3 separate regions of the Homo sapiens genome follow, and regions 2 and 3 are each linked to region 1. The links are contacts of gene promoters, found by promoter capture Hi-C in blood cells and fetal thymus (Javierre and others, 2016). All regions are on one chromosome and are shown on one strand. The core of a region is centred on a gene start or on the middle of the fragment in contact, and the rest is flanking DNA. Distances in the headings are between cores, read along the strand shown.

Region 1 (4,094 bases), core at 432-2,931:
AGTTTATTATTTTTAAGATAAGACTGAAGTGCTCCTTTTCTTTTAGCAGGGTGGAGAGTGTAGGTAAAAAAATGGGGATTCAGCCCAAAATCAAACCTCACCTTCTGAATCATGAGCCAGATCTCTGTTAATGAATTTTCTTTTCCTGACATTTGTTGGTTTCTCGTTACAATTTCTCCCACGCTGACTCTACAAAGGGAAAGATAAAATCCTTTAAAAGAATGTAAACCTCAGATCACACACACGCACACGCGCGCGCACACACACACACACAGACATGCATACATAAGTCTAATGGATCTTCTCTGAATAGAAAAATAGAAGTCCATAGTATCAACTCTAATATTCATTTTCTCACTTATTTGACAGTGAAAGCTTATGTTAAGCAGGCAGGGAGAGTTGCTTCCCAGTGCCGATCTTAGCACATTACTATTTATCAATCATATATTCATGGTATCTCAGCATCAAAACAACCTGAAGCATTTACACTTAAAGTTGTTTTTAGGCTGGTTCAATGCTAGATTAAAACAGTGGGTTTTATTCTCTCTTGGACAGCCCCTCCTCCCCACCCCACCCCCACAAAAAAAAAAAGCAAAAAGAGTAGAGAAATGAAAAAAAAAAAAAAGAGAAAATGAGAAAAAAAAAAGAAACAAAAACACCCCATATAAACAAAAAGTGTCAGCATTTGTCTCAACTTCATTCTTTTCAATGTGGCAGACAAACCCAGCCAAAAACTTTGAGTGCAGCAGCTGCTGCTGCCCTCCATCTCCTCTTCCACTCATGTTGGGCACTTTAATCAGAAAAAGGGGTCTTAAAAACAAAACTATGCCTTATCCAAATCACTGAAAGGTAAGCTCATTTTGAAGACTGGGCTTCTAGAAGCAGAGTCGCCCTACAGTGGCAACAAAGCAGATAAGTATCTGCAATCCCAACCCCCGTGCCCCCTCCCTTCTCATTTTCTCCCTCTCCCCACCCCCGACGGAGTCAAGTTTATAAACAGCAACTTTCAAACTGATCACTCACATTGGTGACCATGTAAGGCACTTGCTGGTCATAAAATCCATCCATGCTGCTGCTCTTCGCAAATCTCAGCTCAGTATTTTATATTTTGAGCATTTAGCTGGAGATTTCCTCAGGATCTGGACTTCTATCAACCTAGAGGGGAACAAGATGGCTTTTAGGCTTAAAAAAAAATCATGAATGAAGCTCTTGAATTTGCATAGCTAATTACCCTCCGACAGTCCCATTCACAAAAATAACCCTCCCTACACCGCCTCCTTCACCTGGATCCAAAGAGAGCCAACAGAGTTCACAATTTACATATTTTCGGTAGTAGCAAAAATCCGAACAAGAGGCGATGTATTTATTTACACTCTCGATGTTTCCCTGCGCGGTCGGTGTACCCCGGGCAGCTCTGATTCGCAAACGTGTGCAAAACTAGCAATGGCGATCAACGAGACTTGCTTTGCACCTAACGGGACTAAAGAGACGGAGACACCTCTTTCATCAGGATAGTTTTTGCGACCCACAACCATGCAATTATCTGGAGAGACATAAAAAGTTGTTGGAAAGACCCACCTGAAGGCCACGCTAGGCGAAAGGCTGCAAAAACTTCCCTCCAAATTTAATAAAAACATTAATTATAGCCCAGCACTTCCCCCTTGGAAGCCGAAAGCGCCTCTGACAGAGCTCAATTCGGTGGTTTTTCCTCTACTTCTCCTCCAGGGGCCTCCAATCCAAACTGATGGATCGCTGCCTCCCATTGGCTCCGCGTCTCTTTCACAAGATCAGATTTCGGGCTGTCAATCAGGCGGCTTGCTGCCCCTTCCCGCGGGTCTCCCTCGCCCCTCTGCCCTAGGGGGTGCTCGGCCGGTAGGCGCTGGGTCCTCAGCCTGGAAGCGCCACGGAGAGACTCGATTTCCTCTGTAACCCGCTGCTTATTGTTAAGGCGCCTGGGGATACTGAAACCGTGTGTTTCGAGTCGCCAGTTCCCATTATTGGGGTGTTAGGTCCACTATTGGGCTGGTTTCCTTAAAGTACTGTTGTGCGGTTCTGGTATACCCTTAGAGCCGCGATCCACAAAGCCCGTACCGCCTTATTCAGCTGCCCTCCCCTCAGGATCTCCAACCTCTCTACTCTTGCCCTGACTAGGAGCTCACCTCGCTCTCTATCCTCATTCCCACTCAGCTTTTGGCCCAATTTATTTTCCCGTTTTTCAAAACCCACCATCACCATTATGGTTTATCGAAACATTTTTTAAACAGTCATCCTCAACTAAAATTAGATCCTATCGTTCGTGGGACAGAAACATAAAGAATCTATAAGGAAGGCACCTAGGAGATGCAGAATTGCTGATTAGCAGAGGTTGTGATGGGAGGACAACAGAGCAAGCTAGGTGAAAAAGTATAAGTCAAAATGGTCCCTACGTGTGCACTGGGAAAAGGTACTTCCAGTCCACTGTGGCTGTGGGGAGGAGGAGGGAGTGCTTGGGGTTGCTCGTATATCCTAGAACCCGCACGTTTCCTGAGCTTTTGTTATGTATACACGGAGGCGGAGGGTGTCACTTACTGTACTTGACGCTTTCACTTCCTCTCCAGCTTTTAAACAGCCAGAGCCCAGGGTTGGGGGCGAGCGGTGAGATGGCTCGGGTTTCAAGGACAATAACTAGGACGTTAAGCAGTGAGGGCTGCATCTCTGAAGCCACTTGCCCTGATCCTCCTATGGGACTCAGAACAGTAAAGCGTCACTTTAAGGAGCCAGTGTCCAACAGCGGACGGGAGGCCGCGGGGATAGGACCAGGGACTCAATGCTGTTGAAATTCATTTGTGACCAGAACTAGTGACCAAAAGACGTTTCCGGCAGCTGTTCCGCCCGTTAGGAAACGTGCTGCAGTTCTCAATTTCTATTTGAAAGTTTCCTTCCTTAAATAGAACGTTATGGAGACACATTAAAATGGAGTGTAAGAGCGCACAGCACTCAACCCCGGACCTGGGCAGGAGAAAGATCTACTTAAAAAAGAAGCAAACAAACAAACAATCAACACTTATTACTGGGAAAACAACCAATAACTATGGACAGCAAAGACAGACCCCGCGCATTCCCGGAAACTACTAAATCGGAGTTCACAACGCGCGCACCTATAAGCATTTTGAGCGGGAACTGCATTTTAACCCCGGCCAAGGAGAGATTCCAGGAAGCGCCTGGGCCCCGAGGCTGAACAGTGAAGCTCATGGGTACTATCTGAGGGTGCAACCAAGCAGGGGGTCAATAACAAGGGTCCTCCACCACCCTGCACTCCTGGAATAACCCAGCGCCTGTAATCTGAGCAACAGTTTCCAAAGACCTTCTCTGCAGCCCGAGCCTGACGGGTATCCAGGGTAACCGCGAGGGGGCGGAGCTTCGGGTTAGGTCCCGGCGAGGTTCTTCCCGCAGCCAATAACGAGCCGTAAATCCCCAGCCCATTGTTGTTTATTGCTGACCCCTCAGCGCTCCGCTAGGAGATTGGCCGCTTTAGGGAAGGGGGCGGAGTCCCGCCCGCCCCAACAGCCACCTTTCGTCTCCATTCACAAAATTCCGGCCCTTCTTGGTCACGTGGTTGGGGGCGTGGAGGGGTAGAGGAAATGACACAACAAAGGCCCAAGTATCCCAAACCACAAAACTTTTTTCAGCTCGCTGCCTCCTCTTTGTCCTGTCCCTGAAACAGATACTAGATGAGGAAAAAGAGGTTGGGGTCTGGGAGTAATAACAAGAGAGAAAAAAATTAAGACCGAAATTAAAGGAAGGCTCACGTGGGGATAATTCCGGCGTGCACTGCTTAGACAGCTTTTGCACTAGAGGAAAGAAAGAATTGAGAGTGGGGAGAAAGTCTTAAGGACTGGGAACTTTTGCTTGCTGCTTCAAGTCATTGCTTTTAAAGGTGCAAACTGTTCGACTGTAGATGGATTTCAGTTTTTTCACTTAACATTCTGTAATTTTCATTTCTACCTTTTTTTGTATCCCACAGTGTCTTGTTAGTTTTTTAAAGCTTTTATGTATTATTAGTATTATATATTTTTAGGAATATTGATGGTTTTCGCTGGCTGATAGCTTTAGTT
Region 2 (4,094 bases), core at 1,067-3,566, 250 kb before region 1:
ACTAACACCAAGCAGCTTAGGCAAGTAATTTTTGTCTATTTTTGTAAAGTAAGGCGGTTTTTTTTTCCTGTTCCTAAAATTAGGAGGAAATAATATTTTGCAGAGCTTAAAATTAGTTCTCTGTTCGAAGCTTTCAATATTTTTCAATGAGAGGAAATTTTTAAATAAATTACATTCTGTAAAATTAAAAATAAACTTCATAGAAAAGTACACTGAAACAAGCCCCAACATCGTTTTTAAATAAGAAGTTGAACTGTTAATGCAATGACATCTTAATTTACACACAATTCTCCATTTAGCTGTTTGAAACCTAATAATAACATTTGAGCAATAAATTATGTATCAAATATTTCCTCTTCTGATAGCCCACCAAAATATAGATTCAATGTGTACTACTGCTGAAAGTCCAAGTGAGATTTAAGATGACTCCCAGATATTTTAATTCCATGATATAAATTATTGGCTTCAGCATATATTCTAACATTACACTTCTCTTTACAAGAGTTCTTGCAACAGTTCATGACTTCTAACCAGGGCTGATATTAAATTCATGCTCTGGAGAAACATAATTTTAACCTGTCAAATGCTTCAGATTCTTTCCAAGATAGAACAAGGATTAATTTCATGTAAAGCAATAAAATTTACTGCATAAACCAAAACTTTGTAGAAATTCTTTGAGATTCACTGACTGACTCTTGAATCAGGATGCCCTTAGCATGAAGGGTGTATGCTACCCTTCTTTTCAGTCTACTTCAGTCCCTCCCACAATCCAGAGACCAGCTTTCCACCAGGTGTCTCAGGATGTTCTCCCCTTTATATATGGGCTTGTCTCAAAAACCAAAGGAAAGTGAGAGTTTTGTTTTGCCTTTTAATGAACACATGATTAAACTATTAGTTATTATTCAGTATGTATATTGTGATTTCAAGACTCCCCCAGTAAATAATTCACAATATTTCTTATGCTGCTGTGGAGTAGCTCATTTACAAAAGAGGTGCCTGTAGTGCTTTAGACAGCATTGACTGAAGTACAGCCTTGTGCAATTTTAGGGGGTCCTAGGAAGGGGCTAAGATTACTTTTTTTCAGGCTCTCCTTTCTCTTTAAAGCCTCTGGGTATATTGATCATGTTCAGGCCTCAAATATCAGTGGGGTGTGGAAGGAGGTGAGAGGAAGGTTATTCTACCTTGTAACATAGTTATCCCAAACCTCATTCTGGAATTTGACTCCTGTTTGAACTTAGGGAGCAATTAAAATACAGTCATGCCAACTCAGCCCCAGCCAAATGCTTTACACTTTTCTACTACAGGAATGCTCATCTCTTAAGCCAAGATTCCAATCCTTGTTTGTCCCTAGGCTGGAAAGCCACATCACTGACACAGCTGTTGAGATGAAGCCGAGATAGTGGAGTGGAGTCTTGACCTTTTACTCACCCTCTAGCACAGCCCATAAAGGGCCTGCATGAAACTTTGGAACTTTCTGAAGCACTGGGTGAAAACCACTAATCTAAAATGTTCTTCCAAAGTCCTTCCGGGTCCTAAATATTTGCATTCTATATAACACCATACTACTGGTTTTTATGAGCAACGTGTTCTTCCTTATTTAGTTTGGCCCCTCACATTCAAATATATGGGAGCTGCATTAGGAACCACATTTCCAATATATTCACTCTGGTTTGGGGACACAATTGTACAGCAGATTGTGGCACCAGATCTCTGATACATCAAAATGTCAAAAATTTGGTTACCTCTTATGGGATAAAGTAGAAGATTATGGTAACAGGTAAATATAAGTAACTCTCAGAAAGCAAAGTTTGAAGGTGTTTTATCTATTGAATATGCTAGCAAATTTTCACTTTCTTTTAAATGAAGATTAGGAAGGCCCCCACCAATATGCTACAGTGCCCTGATGCCTACGTCTACTGCTGAGTAAATACTCAGCTTTGCTCATGTAACTGGACCAGCATATTTGTCTGGAGCTGATGCTGCCCTCTGGCTGCCAATGTGAATTAAATCCTTACAGAAATAACTAAGCTTCATCACAAACAAGCAAGTTCAGTTTTGGAACTGAATCTTTGATAAGGTTCTCTGAGAAGCCCTCATTCTGGATCATGAAGTCAATACTCACTTCATACTCTCTTAACAGTATAGCACTTCTAAAGGGCAACATCTCAGCTCCCTCTGTTTCTAGCACTCAATATTGCCAATGAAAGGAAATTTTTTAAAAAACCATGTTCTGTAAGAATAAAAATAAACAAACTTCATAGAAAATCACAATGAGACAAATTCTTTTACCAGTGTCTCTGGCTTTCACATGTTTTTGCATAATGAAAGGGCTAATATAACATAACAAATCCTAAACTGTTTTCACAAGGAGTGGAAAAAAGATGTGTAAAAGTATGCTCTGTCTTGCTTCCTTCTGTTCACAATGTATCTAAATAAAACAAATGGTGTTCTTGCTCTTTCTGTCTGTTTCCCAATCTGTTTGGATAGTAGCCACCATCCCGCAGCCAACGATAATATCTGACACTTCCTGACATCATGAAAGCCACCATCTGTCTATCACCAAAACCCTGTACTTTTTAAAGACTACTTGGCTTGATCCTTAATGAAGCTTCAAGTTGAATGCACAGATCGCTTTAGAAGGAATACAAGGAATAATTGACACAAGGTATCTGTATAAAATCACGTTCTCATTAGATTCCATTTGAAAACATAAAATGAAATATTAAGGCCCCTTTCAGGCAGAAAAAGCATGGTTTACTTTCAATTGTGTTTCATTTCCGATTTGCCTGTGAAAGTTTAGACAGTGTTGAACACCAGGAATAAACCTAAACTAAAGCCTAAGCTTTAAATTCAATATTTTCCAGTCTTGTAAAATTAAACAGTTAGACATGACTTTGCAGTTTGTATACTTGAGCTATGAAAAAAGAAGAAAATCCATCAATTATTTTTCCAAGGCTTGAGAAAATCATGCCATTTAAAACTGAATCAACTTCTTTAACACCTGAACGATTATCCAGGAAACAAAAGAAGGTTCTGTATGTCTTCACTTGTAAATGTCACAGGTGAACACAAACAACCCTGTGCTGGCAATGTCAAGTCACTCTTTGTTTTATTAAACTGTTGTACCTCTATGTGTGCAACAAGGGAATTAGTTAACAGGGGAGACTGCGGAAAAATATAATAATTCCTAGGTGATATTAAGTTCTCTCAGAAAAAGTAAAGCTTTCCAGGGAGAAGACGGATTAACAAGTTTCATACACAACTTTCTTGACTGCACTCCAGTGTTGTGATTTGTGACATTGATTTCACACTAATGTCTTTCTTTTCTCTCCTTACTCCAATGTTGTCCTGTGGTTCCTTTTAACAACCTCATAAATCCAAATTTTGTGAAGTCATAGATATTTATCTGATAGTCAAAAACGTGTATGTATGTAGAATACACACTATATTCACTTATATATGTATATGTGTGTATGTGTGCATGTATGTATACAGGAAAGAGAATGAGAGCGCTATAGAGGCAGACACAGAGAAACGACGTGTGTGTGTGTCTGTGTGTCTGTGTGTGAATGTTTAGATCAGCCATAAGTTTATATCTTAAACTGGGGGAAAGATACGTATACAGTTCTGTTACAAAGTCCTTATGAGAGTTGAAGTTGCATTTCTCCAGAAAAAAATAGCTTGGTAAAATAAGATTTATCATGTGCTTATGCTATGCTAGGTACATGGTCATGCGCTTCATAATTGTCATTTCATTTGATTATATTTGTTGGGCACTATTACTATCCCACTGTTTTGAAGAGGTAATTAAGGCTTATAGATGGTAACTTAACTTGCTGAAGATCCCACAGCTAGTAAGTAATAGATACTGGATTCAAATCAAAATGGTGTGATTCAATGCCTGTGCTCTCTCCCACCACGACTGTACAGTATCCCTTGCTTAGACTGTGTACCCTCATACAGTCTCTAGCTATGAGATTATAAAACTTGGCACAGTAGGGAAAAGGGGGAAAGTGGACATCAAAATATTTTCATCCACATGAGTGACAGCCTTCCAAATCATCATCATGAAAGTCTAAGCACTTATTTTTCCA
Region 3 (4,094 bases), core at 874-3,373, 220 kb before region 1:
CAAGGGCTGTGAAGGACCTCTTCAAGGAGAACTACAAACCACTGCTCAAGGAAATAAAAGAGGATACAAACAAATGGAAGAACATTCCATGCTCATGGGTAGGAAGAATCAATATTGTGAAAATGGCCATACTGCCCAAGGTAATTTACAGATTCAATGCCATCCCCATCAAGCTACCAATGCCTTTCTTCACAGAATTGGAAAAAACTACTTTAAAGTTCATATGGAAGCAAAAAAGAGCCCGCATCACCAAGTCAATCCTAAGCCAAAAGAACAAAGCTGGAGGCATCACACTACCTGACTTCAAACTATACTACAAGGCTACAGTAACCAAAACAGCATGGTACTGGTACCAAAACAGAGATATAGATCAATGGAACAGAACAGAGCCCTCAGAAATAATGCCGCATATCTACAACTATCTGATCTTTGACAAACCTGAGAAAAACAAGCAATGGGGAAAGGATTCCCTATTTAATAAATGGTGCTGGGAAAACTGGCTAGCCATATGTAGAAAGCTGAAACTGGATCCCTTCCTTACACCTTATACAAAAATCAATTCAAGATGGATTAAAGACTTAAATGTTAGACCTAAAACCATAAGAACCCTAGAAGAAAACCTAGGCATTACCATTCAGGACATAGGCATGGGCAAGGACTTCATGTCTAAAACACCAAAAGCAATGGCAACAAAAGCCAAAATTGACAAATGGGATCTAATTAAACTAAAGAGCTTCTGCACAGCAAAAGAAACTACCATCAGAGTGAACAGGCAACCTACAAAATGAGAGAAAATTTTCGCAACCTGCTCATCTGACAAAGGGCTAATATCCAGAATCTACAATGAACTCAAACAAATTTACAAGAAAAAAACAAACAACCCCATCAAAAAGTGGGTGAAGAACATGAACAGACACTTCTCAAAAGAAGACATTTATGCAGCCAAAAAACACATGAAAAAATGCTCATCATCACTGGCCATCAGAGAAATGCAAATCAAAACCACAATGAGATACCATCTCACACCAGTTAGAATGGCAATCATTAAAAAGTCAGGAAACAACAGGTGCTGGAGAGGATGTGGAGAAATAGGAACACTTTTACACTGTTGGTGGGACTGTAAACTAGTTCAACCATTGTGGAAGTCAGTGTGGCGATTCCTCAGGGATCTAGAACTGGAAATACCATTTGACCCAGCCATCCCATTACTGGGTATATACCCAAAGGACTATAAATCATGCTGCTATAAAGACACATGCACACGTATGTTTATTGCGGCATTATTCACGATAGCAAAGACCTGGAACCAACCCAAATGTCCAACAATGATAGACTGGATTAAGAAAATGTGGCACATATACACCATGGAATACTATGCAGCCATAAAAAATGATGAGTTCATGTCCTTTGTAGGGACATGGATGAAATTGGAAATCATCATTCTCAGTAAACTATCGCAAGAACAAAAAACCAAACACCGCATATTCTCACTCATAGGTGGGAATTGAACAATGAGATCACATGGACACAGGAAGGGGAATATCACACTCTGGGGACTGTGGTGGGGTGGGGGGAGGGGGGAGGGATAGCATCGGGAGATATACCTAATGCTAGATGACGAGTTAGTGGGTGCAGTGCACCAGCATGGCACATGTATACATATGTAACTAACCTGCACAATGTGCACATGTACCCTAAAACTTAAAGTATAATAAAAAAAAAAAAAAAAAAAAAAAAAAAACTTACACGTTCTACTGAAAGTGGATCTTATTGTCATCAATCTGAAGTACCTTTGACCAAGACAATCTAGTTGATTCAGTTAGTGTTACCTAATGCTATTCTATCTGTAATATCTTGTTTCTTTTCCAACTTGTCCAGTAAAATAAGTACCTCTGTTGTTGGAAATTTCTCCAAGAATATCCCATGAGGGAAGCACATTTTCTAATAACAGTTTTAATTATTGTTATACCATCAGCCTTCTTTCATGGAAAAGCTTCTATCTAACCAGAAAACATGGATTGAAAATCACAATTGAAAAAAATTCCTCTATAAATGTTCAAACAGATCATTAGGCAGCAGAAATGTACCTGAACTTGTGAATGTCTTCACAAAATGAAGGGTTTGAGTAACCAAACGTTAGTCATAGTAATTTTGCCAATTTTAGAACAGTCACCACACCATATTTTTTAATGTAATTTGGATCATTTTGTCTCTTTATGATGAGTCATCATGAAGTGCATAGTTTTTAATAATGGAAGCTTTAAGTACTCAGAAGGGACCAGGTGGCTGTCCAGGCTCTCCATGAGTCCATGCTTAACACTGGATTTACACTCTCTAAAATATCAACATTGTTTCTGTAATTCAGGTTCATAGCACTGTTTATTAAATGGGTTAACACAGGTAATTTGACTTGATCACGAAGTTCACTCAAATTGCCTGTCTTAGCAATTTTAGTACTGGCTGACTTAGCATGAAAATCTGCCACAGTATTTCCTTGGTAATTAATTAGTTCTTATACTGCTTGAGTTAGCAGTTTTATGAGCCAGTCAGTCTTCCTCATTAGAGTTCTGGGAGTTCTTACTGAGTCCAGTGGTATGAACTTAAGGTTATCAGCAACCTGTGCTTGTCAGAGTCATTTCCAGTCTCTCCATGAACCTCCTTGAAGACATAACACTTTAAGATCGTAATTGTTTATAAAGAGCTTTCAGAAAAAACATCGGAATTAACAATTAACTACAGACAACAAGACTTGAAATGGTTATGGTTAAAAAGGCATTTGGCAAGGAAATTTGGTTATTTGTATGGCCCACAGTAATTTAATGTAATAAAAATAATTATGACTGATAACATATCCTGAGCTTATACAATTTTGGAACATGTATTAATAACATATCTATACAACTATAACTCAAACCAAAAAGGTTAAGTATCATTTCTTATTTGATAATACTTTCCATTTAAGTTAACATAGCATATAAATGGTTTTCATATATCTCTTTTGGATGCTCCCGGGGCCCTCTGGAACATCTCAAAGTTAGTTTGAGATCAAAAAGACTTAATTTTGATTTTAAAATTTGATTTTTGGAAGTCTACCAAATATATTAAGGGTTTAAAATACCTAACCAAAATAGGATCACATGTCACCGAAAATAATAGTCATTTAACCAAAGTGATAATTAAAACATCTTAAAAAATAAAAACTTTTACTCTTTGATAAAGAGGAGACTCGGTTTTCCAAATAATCAAAAGACCTAATAAAGTCAGAATAAGGCACAGAATATTTGTTTCTCTTTCTCTTTTATTCTCTCTCTCTCTCTCCGTTTTTGCAGTTTACTCAAAAGGTGAATAAAAATCTTTTATTATCTCTTATTAATACAACACAAAAATCTTGCTTAAAACAGAAAGCTAAATTTTATTTTCACCCTAATTTTCTTTTGATATTAAGGCTCAGTTTTTAAAACTCTTACAATGAATTTATTTATCCTTAGTTTAGCCACACAATATTTTTAACTTTTTTTCCTTTTTTAAACTTTCTATGTCCATTCAGTTTTATCTATATCATTTTTTATTTGTTTATTTTGAAGCAATGTTTAAATAATGTCTGAGATAAAATTACTTTAAAAGAAAATACACTTTTATATCTCCTTTATAACCTTTCTCACCAAAAACATATTTTTCCTTTTTTATTATATATTTTGCATAGAGAATTGTTACCCTTATTTTTAGTAGTTTTAATTGTATACATTAATTACAATTTTAACTCTTAGTAACTAATTTCCAGTGAAGAACCTAGAAAATAAGCAATTTGAACTGTTTTGTAACAGTATTTGTAGATGAAAGCTATTACATAATTTTGAGAAATATATGTTTAATCAGTGTTTTATGTTGATTAATAAACCCAAATATATTTAGCTTCTCTATATCATATAAAAAATGTTAAAATATATAAACTTAAAGTTATTCTTAATAATTAATGTTTCAGTATTTTAACTTACTTAGAAATGACTTAGATATTTAATGAGTATTACTTAATTTAACATGACTTTAAGATTTTAAATTACTGAAAAATATTTTTGAAACCATGACAAGTTCAT

Evidence for each region. The method cuts DNA at HindIII sites, captures the fragments that hold promoters and counts their contacts. A CHiCAGO score of 5 or more calls a contact.
Region 2: a contact is called between a fragment that was not itself captured here and the fragment with the promoter of ETV1 in region 1, in 1 of 17 cell types (total CD8 T cells). The highest score is 7.2, in total CD8 T cells.
Region 3: a contact is called between a fragment that was not itself captured here and the fragment with the promoter of ETV1 in region 1, in 1 of 17 cell types (total CD8 T cells). The highest score is 5.3, in total CD8 T cells.

What each region holds. Positions count from the first base shown.
Region 1 is chr7:13,987,985-13,992,078 of GRCh38, forward strand. ETV1 (ETS variant transcription factor 1) reads right to left here and starts at 1,682. Exons shown (of 14, transcript NM_004956.5): 1 at 1,579-1,682; 2 at 1,284-1,480; 3 at 1,024-1,155; 4 at 102-189. The coding sequence starts at 1,068. RefSeq lists an enhancer at 3,202-3,703. The HindIII fragment of the contact is 3,649 bases long and covers 374-4,022 here.
Region 2 is chr7:13,740,947-13,745,040 of GRCh38, forward strand. All of the region lies in intron 3 of LOC105375161 (a long non-coding RNA gene), which reads left to right. Among named protein-coding and RNA genes, the nearest start is that of ETV1, 250 kb to the right of the region's middle. The HindIII fragment of the contact is 580 bases long and covers 2,027-2,606 here.
Region 3 is chr7:13,768,293-13,772,386 of GRCh38, forward strand. No RefSeq gene overlaps it. Among named protein-coding and RNA genes, the nearest start is that of ETV1, 220 kb to the right of the region's middle. The HindIII fragment of the contact is 265 bases long and covers 1,992-2,256 here.